Linked DNA regions of Homo sapiens: regions 2 and 3 are each linked to region 1. Evidence: promoter capture Hi-C in 16 types of primary human blood cells and fetal thymus (Javierre and others, 2016). All regions are on one chromosome and are shown on one strand. The core of a region is centred on a gene start or on the middle of the fragment in contact, and the rest is flanking DNA. Distances in the headings are between cores, read along the strand shown.

Region 1 (4,282 bases), core at 498-2,997:
CGACAGAGCGAGACTCCGTCTCAAAACAAAACAAACAAAACAAACAAACAAAAAAACGGCATGAGGGAAATTTCCATGTTTATTGTGTTCATCTTTGTATGCCTAATTCCAAACTTTCCAAGCTCGGCACCCAGCACACAGTAGGTTCTTAATATTTGTTGAGTGAATGAATAAATGAAGTAAATTGGAAATGTAATTTGTCTTTGTCTAAAGGCAAGAACTCATTCAATATAACCTAGTCACTTGTCTTGACCTTCACCTCTTTTTTTCTTTAACAACCTTATTGAGGGAAAATTTACATACCATAAGATTCACCCATTAAGCTCCTCTTACTAATTTTTTTCTCTCTCATTTTTGTGTGTGAAGGTCATTTTCTAATGGCAAAAATGGAAAGAAAATAGAAGTAGAATGTTGTGGAATCTTAGATAAAGAATGGGCTCTTGGAGCCCAGTTTAGCAGGGTTTACTTCTCAGTTTTACTTTTCAATTGTGACCGTAAGCAAATTAACTTCTCTAGGCCTGGGATTCTGATCTGTAAAATTGCACTAATATGAGTCTCTTCACGGCTCCTCTAAGGATTAAATGAGAGACACATGCAAAGGATCCCCAAAAACAATAACTCAAAAAATGTTGATTCCCTCCCTTCCCTCTGTCATCTGTTAACCTCAACTTCCTAAATAGAAGGTCTATTCTTTTACCATCATCATTATTCTCTTCGGTGCCTATTTTTAAAAAATACTCAACCTTCTTGCTTCCTTCGCTACCTAAGTATTTCTGCAAGCCCACTTTGTTCTGCAGCTTAGCTTTCCTGGCACAATTCTTATAGATTTTGGTCCCTTTTAAAATTCATTCTTCAGCAAATGCTTTCTCTCTCCATCTTTTGACTAGAGATCATTAGAGATCACCTGAGATCATTAGAGAACAGTGGTTTCCTTGGTTGCCATTCCCTTTCTTCTTCATTGGGAGTATTCTGCGGTGAACTCAGACATTTTATTTTTCAAAGCTTCCCATTCTTTTAAAAATGCTTTTCCTTTTACAGCCTCTCGCTCAAAATCATACCCATCTTTTCCCTGGATCTGTTTTCTCAAGTCTCCAATCGCCTGCCTTCTTTGTGTCTTGTATTACCCTCACATCCCCCAGCTTTCTACTGCTCTCCCAGGACCAACCATTTCTTCCGCGGGAGTCACATTACATCAGCATTCCTAATGCAGTATCTGTTATCTACCAGATTCTGTTTTATTCTAGGTAGTCACTTAAAAACGAACCTCGGTACTGGTCTGACTTAACATGGAGGAGGAATTGTCTAAGGTTAAACGCAAACTGCTGAGAGATTTGGGGCGGGGGGCACACATTTACATTCATTCGTATTAAATATATACCTGTTGAATTTGTGCTTTTTCTCAAATGCTTCAGAGACTCGAGCTTTAGAGTAATTGGGATGGTGAAAGGATGGGTTTCCAGAAACTTCGCCCAAAATTAAAGACTCCATCAAAAGGACTGCTCCATACACTCAAGGAACACCCACCAACAAATCCCGTCTCCACAACCACCAGATTATCTCACCGGCGAGTGAGACTGCAAGGTTTGGGGGCCCGGCCGTACCACTCCGCGCTGCGCACGGGGGGTTCGTACCCATCTGGCCGCGACCGTCCGTTTCCCCCTCGCTTGGTTCTGCCCCTGCTCCCCCTGCACAGGCCTCACAGTGCGTCTGGCCGGCGCTTTATAGCTGCAGCCTGGGCGGCTCCGCTAGCTGTTTTTCGTCTTCCCTAGGCTATTTCTGCCGGGCGCTCCGCGAAGATGCAGCTCAAGCCGATGGAGATCAACCCCGAGGTGAGCGCCAGGTGCACCGCTACCCGGAGAGCGCGAGGCCGAGGGAGGGGGAGCCGAGTCGCTGATCGGTTCGGTTTTGCCTTTTTCTTTGCATTTGCCTTTCAGATGCTGAACAAAGTGAGTGGCGTCTCGCGCCGTCTCTGGCCCCCTCCCCCGCGAGCGCCGAGGCGGGGGCGCCCACCGGTTCCGGCTGCTGGCAGGGACCAAGCCGCCCGCTGCGAGCACCGGAGACGGCCGGGCTGGGGCGTGGGCTGGGCGCCTTTCCTGGGCCCCTGCATTTAGCGGGTGACTCTACGAAACCGGTCACGGGGAGACGGAGGGGGCTGCGCCCCGTGGCGAGCGAGCGCCAGGCGGAGCTCCCGAGGGCGTGGCGCGGGCAGCACAGACTCGGCTGCACGGGCTTCGCGGGCGCCACGTGTGGGCCGCGCTTTGTGCTGTGTCATTGCGCCGGCCCGGGTGGGGGTGGCAGGGCGGGACTGGGGCTCCTCCCAGGCTCGGGTGCGGGCGCGGAGGGCGCGCGCCTCCTGGCCCCGCCCCCTGGCAGGTGCCCGCGACCCGCGTGTCCCCGTGCGCCTGGCCGCCTTGTCTCCTCTCCGCAGGTGCTGTCCCGGCTGGGGGTCGCCGGCCAGTGGCGCTTCGTGGACGTGCTGGGGCTGGAAGAGGAGTCTCTGGGCTCGGTGCCAGCGCCTGCCTGCGCGCTGCTGCTGCTGTTTCCCCTCACGGCCCAGGTAGGGCGTGGGGCCCAGGATGCGCCGGCCGCCGGCAGTGCACGCCGCTCCCCAGCTTGAGTCCTCGGGGGCTCCCCGCCCCGCCCCCTCCCCTGTAGGTGATGCGGGGCGCGCCTACAAGGAAGGGAGGAGCCTGCATTTTCGTGGTACCTACTCCCTGGGCTCCTGTTCCAGCGGTGCCTGTCGCCTTCTTGCCCATCCGTCCACAATTGCCTTAAATTTGGAAGAGAGGCAGTATCTCAGTTCCATCTATCCCGTTATCCAGGGAAATCATTCATCCTACTCATGAGTTCCCTCGAACTTGGGCTTTTTCGAGCCTCCGGTTCCGGGGAATGGCTGCTGGTTTCCCTTTAAGGGCTATAACCTGTCAACTCATTGTTTGCTTCTCAGACTCCCACCTAGCTGTAGAATGGAGGGGGAAGGGCTGACCTAAATCGCAGGGAAACAATTAGGTTCGCTAATTCTCCGCCTCCATTACTTGGGTTTCTGATGGTCTTAAGGGGTTCTTCTCTCTTCTCCACTCCCACCACTTGCACACTTGGTTTTTAGCCTCTTGAATGTATTTCTTAAAGCTTAATCATTTTGTGTATGGTTTCTGTGTGGGAACCTCCTTCCTCTTCACTTATCCTTGTTCATCTCTGACCTTGTAGCTAACTGAAATAGGGGGTTATTAGCTCAGTTTTGAAAGCACCTTTGCATTTCCCTTGAAATGATTTTCCTCCTACAAGTGTGCATGGATAGATGTATCTGAAAGACAGCGTCAGATTTTTTTTTTTAAAGGATAGCTAGGATATTTGCAGTCTTGTGATGTATGGAATCCCAGTCATTAGCGCATGGCATTGTCTTATCTCCTATTGCTGTCACTTGACCGCTGATGTGGGAGTGACTGAAATTAGCTTTAGCAAAACTTGGGGCATCACTCTAAAGAGTGAGGTTAACTGAAGCACCGTCCTAAGGCTAGGTGTTCTGGAAGCATCTGTAGCCAAAATCAAGAGTATGGGAAGTTCCAAGCCTTCCTCCTAGTAAGTAAGCTAAGTATTGTGGGTAAAAACACTTATTTACAGCTAATAAGATGATCTCACTGACATGTTTTTATTGCTAAAGTCTTTTACTTGGGCTAAAAGGAAGATGCCAAATTGTTGGAAGTCGAATTAGCTTCCTGGTTGACCAAATCAGTCTCCTGTCTCCAGTTGAGCATCACACAGAGGTTTTTTATTAGAGCAACCATGATGACTCGGAGGTTTTGAGCAGCATTCAGAGGCAAGGCCTCTGGGAGGCAGTGGTGCAGCATGTTTGCCTTTAAAAGCTGACTGTTCTCCTTTTGCTGAATCTTGTTTAGAGAACATTCTAGTTTGTGTTATGTTTGAAAGAGCTCGATACTTTGTCCTTTAGTTTCAATTCAACCTATCAGATTTATCGAGCGCCTATTCTGCTACACAGAATGCCTACTGGACAAAACACTGAAGCCGATTGAAAGAAAAGTTGAGGTTTTATAGGTTGACTCCAAAGATGCTAATGTTAATTTGGAAGGCATTTAATTTTTGACTAAGGGAATGTTATGACCCCCTACATGGACCACTTCTGAAACATTAAGTGCTAGTAGACTATTTACAGAATGATTTCCATGGAAGAGCTCAAGCAGCCCTAAAGGATGGTGCTATCCCATTTTAACATTTCATCTAATTAGCCTAGAAAATGAAAAACACTTACTGGTCAATGAATACT
Region 2 (4,542 bases), core at 753-3,252, 570 kb after region 1:
AGAGAGGTAGAAGGTGAGACCCTTTAATCTGAGGTAGCTACTGTTCAGCATCCTGGAAGGTCCCACAACAATTCCACTTACGCTGGCACCTAAATTGTAGTCATACAGCCACACCTATCTTCAAGAAGGAATTGGAAATGTTATCTTTTGTCTAAGCCTGGAATTCACGTTCTAATACTAAGGAAAGTAAAATACATATTGTATTAGGCAATAGCAATATCTACTACATTAGATTTGTAAAGGAATAGAGCTTTGTAAAGGAAATAGAGATTTGTAAAGGAAAACGAATTGATTCCTTCATCTAGCCTGATTATTCATTTCTTCCACATACCTGTCTGGTGTAGAAGAGAAAGGGGCAAATAGTTTTCTTAAGCATAAATGTCAAAGACATTGAATAATAACATAGTGTTTCTTTGTGTCAAGCAGTGTTCTAAGTACTTTACATATATTAATTCACTTAATCCTAACAACAACCTTATGAAAATGGTGCTTTTATTATCATCATGTCACAGTTAAGACTTTAAGACACAGAGAGGTTAAGTGATTTGCCCAGGGTCACACAGCTAATAAGTGTCAGAGTCAGGATCAAACCCAGGCAGTCTGACTCTTAATCAACTAATCAACTGATCAAAACAAGGAATGAGCAGTTTAGCATAAAGTTAAAGATCAAATTTTTAGACTTTCCCAAAAAGCAATGTCTTAATCAAAACGAGATGAAGCACAACTCAGGAATTAGACTTCAATCCTCTCCTCTTACCCTCCATTTTATAGTTAACATGTTCTTAACTTAAAGTTCCTAAAATGCTAAAATGTTTGTATCATGTTTTCATTTGTGGTAGATAATTCAAAGGAATAGGTGTTAGGAAAACTTAAAAACACTTTTTGGATGAAATAACTCAAAATATAATTTTGTTCTCCTCCTGGTTATAGCCATACACTTACACATCTCAAAGCAAAATATGTAATGGTCAATTCCAAGTCCTAAAGGCCCACTATGCTAATGGCTCACAGCTAAATGAGCTGCAATTTCAAGTAGTTACATTGTAGTTTCTCCCTCCTTTCCTGCTCACATCTTCTCCCCAGGCAAACAGATGGACCCACTGTCCCCTGAACAAACCTGCAGGGTTTTTTTAAAAAATCTGTTATTTGATTGATTTTGCCTCCATCTTGGAATGCCTTCCCCACTGCCCTCTGCCTGTGTGAACAATCTTTGTCTTTCAAGATCAGCTCAAATCTGACCACAAAACTCTTTACCCACCCACTTGCTCCTCCTCCAGGGCTCCTCACATCAGTAAATGCCACCATCATACAGTTAGTTTGTTCCCTGGTCTCCACCCTCCCGTGATCTCCTGCACAAAGCCCTATTAAACTTCAAATGTGTCATGAATCTGTTCCCCTCTCTTATCTCTACAGCAATCACCTTCCCCAAGTTACTGCAATAAACTTTCTAAACTTGTCTCTCCACTTACATCCTCAGTCTTTGGGTTCCCTATTAATCTATTGTTTCTCACTTTCTATGTCTAATTTGTTTGCTAGGGCTAGGGCTCTGCAAACTGCATTTCTGCTTTGCCGTTGTACTAGTAGGGGGCTCCAAAGGGAGCCGTGAAGGAAGAAGATGGGAAGAGCCTTACTCCTCGCTGCTTGCTTGCTGCTCCTGCCAGCATGACCATATGATGAGGGGACCACCAGGAGTGAGGGTTTCAGTAACCATTGGTTCCAGTTTCCAGATTTTTTCCCCACCATCCCAGAACTGGGCTCATTACACTAGCTCAGAGGTACTAGCACTAGCTGGGAATGCCCTGTCTTCAGAGATCTAGGTCCACTTCTGCAGGGCTCCTCTGAACTCTTAAGATACCAACACTAACTTGATGGTGAGTGTCTGTTCTCAGGGTTAGAGTCCCAGCTCCACGAGGCCACCAAGCTTCTAAGTTCTTATAACCCCAACCTCTTTCCTGTGTTCCCTCAACCTTAGTAGTGGTAGTTGTCTCCCAAAGTTACTATGCTGTTAGGAGGGACCTTCAAATAGTTCATGGAAAATGTAATTAAAAGATCAAAATAAAAAATATAAACTTTCTTTCTTAACAAAAGCTTCATCAAGTTCAAGACACTTTTCAAAGCCAAGACACCAGCTACTTAGCCCATTCCTAAGTAACTGAGGGTCCTGGGAATTTAACCATGTCAGTACAGTCTTTTTTACATTACTAATTGAAGAAAAATGGGTGTCCTTTAAAGATTTTTTAAGATTAGGAAACCAAAAGAAGTCAGAAGGAGCCAAATCAGGACTGTAAGTAGGATGCCTAATGATTTCCCATCAAAACTCTCAAAAAAATTGCCTCTGTTTGATGAGAGGAATGAGCAAGAGATTGACATGGTGGAGAAGGATTCCGGTGACGCTTTCCCAGGTGTTTTTCTGCTAAAGCTTTGGCTAACTTCCTCAAAACACTCTCATAATAAGCAGATGTAATTGTTGTTTGGCCCTCCGGAAAGCCAACAAGCAAAATGCCTTGAGCCTCCCAAAAAACTCTTGCCATGACCTTTGCTCTTGACCAGTCCACTTTTGTCCTGATGGGACCACTTCCACCTCTTGGTAGCCATTGCTTTGATTGTGCTTTGTCTTCAGTATCTTACTGGTAGGGCCACGTTTCATCTCCTGTTAGAATTCTTCAAAGAAATGCTTCAGGATCTTGATCCCACTTGTTTAAAATTTTCATTGAAAGCTCTGTTCTTGACTGCAGCTGATCTGGGTGCATTAGTTTTGGCAACCATTGAATGGGAAGTTTACTCAGCTTTAATATTTCAGTCAGAATTGTGTAAGCTGAACAAATTGAGATGTCCATGGTGTTAGCTATTGTTCCTGCTGTTAATCATCAGTCCTCTTCCATTAGGGCACAAACAAGATTAATTTTTTCCTTGTAAATGGATGTCGCTGGTCTGCTGGGAGGGACTTCATCTTCAACATCATCTCATCCCTTCTTAAGAAAAGTTATCGGCCGGGCATGGTGGCTTACTCCTGTAATCCCAGCACTTTGGGAGGCCGAGGAGGGTGGATCATGAGGTCAGGAGTTCAAGACCAGCCTTGCCAACATAGTGAAACCAGATCTCTACTAAAAATAAAATAATTAGCCGGGCGTGGTGGCAGGCGCCTGTAATCCCAGCTACTCGGGAGGCTGAGGGAGGAGAATCGCTTGAATCCGGGAGGCAAAGGTTGCAGTAACCTGAGATCACACCATTGCACTCCAGCCCAGGCAACAGTGTGAGACTCCGTCTCAAAAAAAAAAAAAGTTATCCTCGGCCAGGAGAGGTGGCTCATGCCTGTAATCCCAGCACTTTTGGAGACCGAGGCGAGCTGATCACCTGAGGTTGGGAGTTCATGACTAGCCTGACCAACATGGAGAAACCCCATCTCTACTAAAAAAATACAAAATTAACTGGGCGTGGTGGTGCATGCCTGTAATCCCAGCTCTTCGGGAGGCTGAGACAGGAGAATCGCTTGAACCTGGGAGGTGGAGGTTGCAGTGAGCCGAGATCACCCCACTGCACTCCAGCCTGGGCAACAAGAGCAAAACTCTGTCTCAAAAAAAAAAAAAAAAAAAAAAGTTATCCTCCTTCATATCTGGAGGATATTTTTTAAGTTATCCATTTCAAACGGCTGATATCTTTGGTGTATTGTCCCCATAAACTTTTTATGAAGCATTCGTGATTTCACCATTTTTCCACCCAAGCTTCACCTTACATTTAATGTTTGCTCTTGCTTCAATTTTAGCAGAATTCATGTTGCTCTGATAAGGAATTTTTTTAAACTGATGTCTTATCCTTCTTAATGCCTCAAACTAGATGCTGTTCAGACATAACAAATGAGTATGGATTTTTCTGGTGCAAAAATATTTTGAAATCCAGGCACAGTTTTTTCATAATATGCATTTTTCATAAAGTTGTTGAAGACCCCTCAAATTATCATTATTGCCTCTTTTTTGATCTAATACTTGTACAACCAACTGCTTATATTAAATTCTCACTGTTAAACTTACTGGCGTGGTTTCTGATTTCTTGACTGGATCTCCACAGATACATCCTTCTTGGATCCATTGTCATGGCAGCCAGTGTGATCTTTTGGATATGCAAATCAGACTGTGTCATTCTTGGGCTTAATATCCAGTGTTGAGATCCCATTGCTTTCAAGATCAAGTCTAAGACCCTTACCATTGCTTACAAAACATTTGCATTCATTCAACAATCAAAGGATTATAGTGGATGATATGGTGCCCTGCCCAGATGCCCTCTTTGAGACTGAGATACTTATTCTCCAACTGCCAGGAGTAATGGCTACTGATGACTCCTAGATGTCTCCCTCTCTGAGAATTGGCCTTGATTAAAAGAAATTACCTCACCAAAGGTCATGCAACCCCTCCGCAGGAGCACTCACATTCAAATGACTGGTTAGTTCAGAGTGTCTAAAGCCCTGTTCAACTTGCCTTCATTTGGGACAATTCTGAAAGGATAACCCAGCTCCAGAATTCCCTGTAGGGTTGGCTGAGATCTCTG
Region 3 (4,683 bases), core at 20-2,519, 720 kb after region 1:
ATTGTTAAAAACCAGTTCCTGGAACGTAGTAGGCACTCAATAAATACACATTGAATGCTTGAAACAAAACTTACTCTAGTTAAACAGAAGAAGAATTTTTTTTAAAAGGATATTAGGTATTTAAAAGTCTGGATGGAGTAGGGAATCAGGCTTGGAAGCTGTCTAACCAGGAATAATGCAGTTTCCATTGGGAACAGTCACCACTATTACTGGGACACTCCCCTGGACGTGTGTCCTTACCACCTCCACTGGTTGTATTTTGCCTTACGCCTCTTCCCTTGCAGAATATGTTCCTTGAGATGCCTTACTTTTCCCATTACTTTATTTCAAATTGTAGCTTCTCATAGATGTTCTGATGGTTGGTTGGTGGTTTGTCACATGCGTGGGCCCTTGCTCCAAAGGAGCCCAGGAGAGCAAGTTCCAGCCTTCTACTTTGGGGAGGTAGGCTCACAGGTAGGACATTCCCCAGATATTGGAAGTATGTTCAAAATATGCTGTGCAGTCACAAAATATAAATGCTCTTCACTGGCACTGAGTGCTATCATTAAAAAAAAAATCTAGCTCAGGAGACCTGAAGTTATTTTAAAATTGTATGTGTAATCCAGAATCCATTTCCCATAGCAATTGTTAAACAATGTCTGCTTTCAAATTTATTATTCTTCATTCCTGACCTTGTTCTAAGCTTAACCAATCACATATTTTCTCATTTGACATCCCAGTGATTAATAGCTGAAACCCATTGCCTGGAGAATGGTTTCCATTGTGATGTGGTACTCCTTGGGTGGAGAGTGGGATGAACAGGCAACAGAATGCTTTGTTTATGGAAAAGGAATAAGAGTGTGAGTCCATTATCAGAAAATGCAGCAAGGGTGTAAAATATTGGGCTGCCATGTTAGAGCTCACCTGTTACCATAAAAACCTCTGTACTCAGCAGCTGGGTCAGTGGGAAGCCTGCTGCCCAGTTCGAATGGTATATTGAATTATATGACCAGTCTTGGCATCAGTTTAACATATTTTTAAGTAACTTTTATTTTTTCTTCCTTTCTTTTAGTTCCTTTTTTTTTTCTTGCAAGTAGGAAGCAGGAATGACTGTTCAATTATTAGATATTCAAGTTTAGAATTCACTGTCATTACTGCACAATTCATTTGCTGAAATAACAAGTAGCAGATGCTACAGTGCAAGTTAATGAATAATTCTTATTTGTACTCTGGCCTTTCATTGCAATTCATTTGTTACAGACATGTGGGTTTAGTAATTATTATTCTCACACTTTCTAAAATGTTTTTAGCTTTTTAAAAAGCATTTTGCTCATTTTTTTATTTCCTTCTGTTTGTTTCATTCTATTTATTAAATTCTCCCATTTATCCCAATTGTTTGGGAAGTCTCATGGCTCTTTATGGTTCTCTTCTGAGAGGAATATGAAATACTTCAATTGATTTGTTCCTTATTGCAAATAAGCCAAAGCCATGGCTCATTTACCATTACCGGGTTTGTTTACCATTTCACAGGCACACTTGAGGCCTCAGCTTTCAAGGGCATGTTTTCAGCCTGTTACAAACCATGCTTGGCCTTCCTTCTCTAAAGTCTGCTCCTTCCTAACCAGGAAACAGGGCAGGAATGGAATTTTCTTCCCATTCCAGTTTCTCTTTAGCTGCTTGTGTCCAGAAGTTGATATGGCATAGCTAAAATTAATACCTGAATTGACCCAGTTCACCTTCTGTTTTAGAAACAACAACAACAAAAAAATTGGCTAAAAAGTAAAGGCCTGGGTATTTTTAGAAAGAGCAATAATTAGTGTAAAATGTCACAGAAATATAATACGTTTAGATTCATGTCAGACAAAAGTTATTTCCAGGAAGCTTCTCAAAGACAAGAAAAGGGATGTTGGAGATATTGGGAAAAAGTATAGTGAAATTGGTAAGAATAAATAAGCTGCAGTGAAGCCTATCTGAAGCATTTGGAATATGACTTTGCAAGAGGCTCAGAATAGAATAGAGTAGGAATCTATCCCTGTTTATCTTTTTACCTCCCTATCCGTCTTGTATAGATATTGGAGTAAAAAGATGAGGAATGTTGCCTCTTGTTCCTCTCTCTGTGACTCACAACAGTGATGCTAAAGTGAGGAAGTGGCTTCAGACATGAACAGAGGTGGGGGATGGGAAAAACGGTCAGTATTAAGAGGCATGTGGCATGTGTGAAGATTTAGGAATTTAAAACACACACACACATGGTGGAAGCTGGTAAGCCTTGCCTTTTATACACAGTTCTGAATTTTAACTCTGAGGAGAGGAGTTTTTTGGGGTATAATTCTCTGTCGTAAGAGGCTGCCCTATGTGTTGTAGGATGTTTAGCAGCATCTCCAGCCTCAACCCACTCGATGCCAGTAGTATCCAGTTGTGACAGCTAAAAATGTCTCCAGATATTGCCAACAGTTGTCCCAGGATGAGAACCACTGCTGCAAAGGTCACACGATGTGGTTGGGCAGGGTGAGTATGGGACCTTGAGCTGGGGTAAGACCTGAGGGGCAGAGTTGTGAGAGTTATGGGGAACGTTTCCAATTTCTTCTATGGAGAAATGGGAAGAGATGGTGGATGAAGGAAATGGAGTGGCATGGTGGGAATGGAGTATGTAAATTCCTAAAAGAGAAGGAAAGAATCCTAAAGGCTGAAATAATTTTTTAAGACAGTAGATAAAAAGTCATGTAGCATTTAAGGAGACTTATTTTTTCTAGAAGGTTGATTTATATGTTTATTGAGAGGGAAGGAAAGTTAGTTAATCAGAAAAGAAGGGGGAGGTGGGGATGGTAAATGAGTTAAAAAAAAAAAAAAGTTAAATAATGAATAGGACTGGCCAGGCGTGGTGGCTCATGCCTGTAATCCCAGCACTTTGGGAGGCCGAGGCAGGCGGATCACAAGGTCAGGAGTTCGAGACCAGTGTGTCCAATATGGTGAAACCCCATCTCTATTAAAAATACAAAAATTAGCCTGGCATGGTAGCGGGAGCCTGTAGTCCCAGCTACTCGGGAGGCTGAGGCAGGAGAATCACTTGAACCCAGGAAGCAGAGGTTACAATGAGCCGAGATCGCACGACTGCACTCCAGCCTGAGCAACAGAGCAAGACACACACACACACAAAAAAAAACACAAAACACAAAAAACGAATAGGACCTACTATTTGATAGCACAACGGGGTGATCATGGTCAATAGTAACTTAATTGTATGTTTTAAAATAACTTAAAGAGTGTAATTGGATTGTTTGTAACTCAAAGGATAAATGGTTAAGGGAATGGATACCCCATTTACCCTGATGTGCTTATTTCACATTACATGCCTGTATCAAAACATCTCGTGTACCCCATAAATATATACACCTACTATATATCCACGGGAATTAAAAATTGAAAAAAAGAAGTGGAAATAGATTGAAAGCTCTCCCTGTAGAGTAGAAGTTGGATAGATTTTGCAGAAATAACCTTAATCCCTTATTCCTCTCAGTGAAGGAGCCTATGAAATAAAGGAGAATTAAACATGTAGTTCTTATAATTTTCATTCCTTCATTCACTTATCTATATCCTATGTCCCATGTACTATATTATACACTAGACAGTAAGGATAGAAAGATGGATAAGAAACAATCCCTGTCTAAAGATGTCCACAGTATACTAGGGTAGACAAAGATGTGTAATCAGTTTGATTGAGAATCTCACCTCAAGAGGCATAAGCTTGAAAGTCTCATCATTTCTACACTTGGTATTTTGTCAGATTTCATTGCTTCAAAGTATCAGCCTCCTTAGTTATTAAAACTTTCATTCTAGGTATTAAGATTAGGTCCTACTGATTTAAAATATTAGTCTCATATTTATTTCAAAAACTTCCTCCATGCCTTCCAGAGCAGACTAGACCCGTAGTTCCAACTTTCTTTATACACACCCCTTTTTTTCCATGTGCCTGCTCTTCCGATGGTGGGGTCAGGAGGTTTAAGAAGGAAAACAGGCAATGCCTTAAATGTCTGACTGCCGCCATGTTGCTATCTGCTTTCTGTAGGTCATTGTTAGAATATATGGGGTTCCTAACAGCCCCACTGATAACTCAGTATCAAGCAGTCCTCTATGCTTTGATAGCCCTTTGCAAGACTTCTGCATCTGTCAGCTGACTTCCATTTGGCAGTGGTGAAACACATTCTTCTGATACATAGAAATCCCTTGTCCCATGTTATGTTCCATGGCAAGTGTGTGGGCCTCAATCTCCTGTGCTCTCTGTGATCCCAGCTCTGGGGCCTGTAGATTCCGACAGGATCCATAGTCCAGATATCACCGGATTTCTCTGTAGTCCCTACCAACTCTCCCCAGTCCTCCAAAATTCCTGGAAATTCATAGCGTAAGGGGAGTCAGCAAGCTTTGTGGCAAAGGAAACATCCAGATGGGGACTGGAGATATCAGCCTCCTCTTGAAGACACCCCAAAACTTTACTAGTATCATGTAATAGGTACTAATGTCCTGAACAGAACATGAAAGACACTAACCATTAATGAAACAAATGGACAATTTGGATAAATTCATAATTTATTTACTTATTTTTCTTTCTTTTTGAGACAGGGTCTTATTCTGTCTCCCAGCTGGGCTGGAGTGCAGTGGGGTGATCACTGCAGCCTCAACTTTCAGGGCTCAGGTGATTTTCCCTCC

What was found. The method cuts DNA at HindIII sites, captures the fragments that hold promoters and counts their contacts. A CHiCAGO score of 5 or more calls a contact.
Region 2: a contact is called between a fragment that was not itself captured here and the fragment with the promoter of UCHL1 in region 1, in 1 of 17 cell types (naive B cells). The highest score is 5.4, in naive B cells.
Region 3: a contact is called between a fragment that was not itself captured here and the fragment with the promoter of UCHL1 in region 1, in 1 of 17 cell types (M0 macrophages). The highest score is 5.1, in M0 macrophages.

Annotation. Positions count from the first base shown.
Region 1 is chr4:41,255,181-41,259,462 of GRCh38, forward strand. It overlaps UCHL1 (ubiquitin C-terminal hydrolase L1), which reads left to right and starts at 1,748. Exons shown (of 9, transcript NM_004181.5): 1 at 1,748-1,829; 2 at 1,935-1,946; 3 at 2,429-2,557. The coding sequence starts at 1,797. It overlaps UCHL1-DT (UCHL1 divergent transcript), which reads right to left and starts at 1,547. Exons shown (of 3, transcript NR_102709.1): 1 at 1,379-1,547. RefSeq lists a silencer at 1,864-2,623 and an enhancer at 2,458-2,958. The HindIII fragment of the contact is 2,127 bases long and covers 1,001-3,127 here.
Region 2 is chr4:41,824,932-41,829,473 of GRCh38, forward strand. No RefSeq gene overlaps it. Among named protein-coding and RNA genes, the nearest start is that of LINC00682, 55 kb to the right of the region's middle. The HindIII fragment of the contact is 167 bases long and covers 1,920-2,086 here.
Region 3 is chr4:41,975,791-41,980,473 of GRCh38, forward strand. No RefSeq gene overlaps it. Among named protein-coding and RNA genes, the nearest start is that of DCAF4L1, 3.6 kb to the right of the region's middle. The HindIII fragment of the contact is 1,178 bases long and covers 681-1,858 here.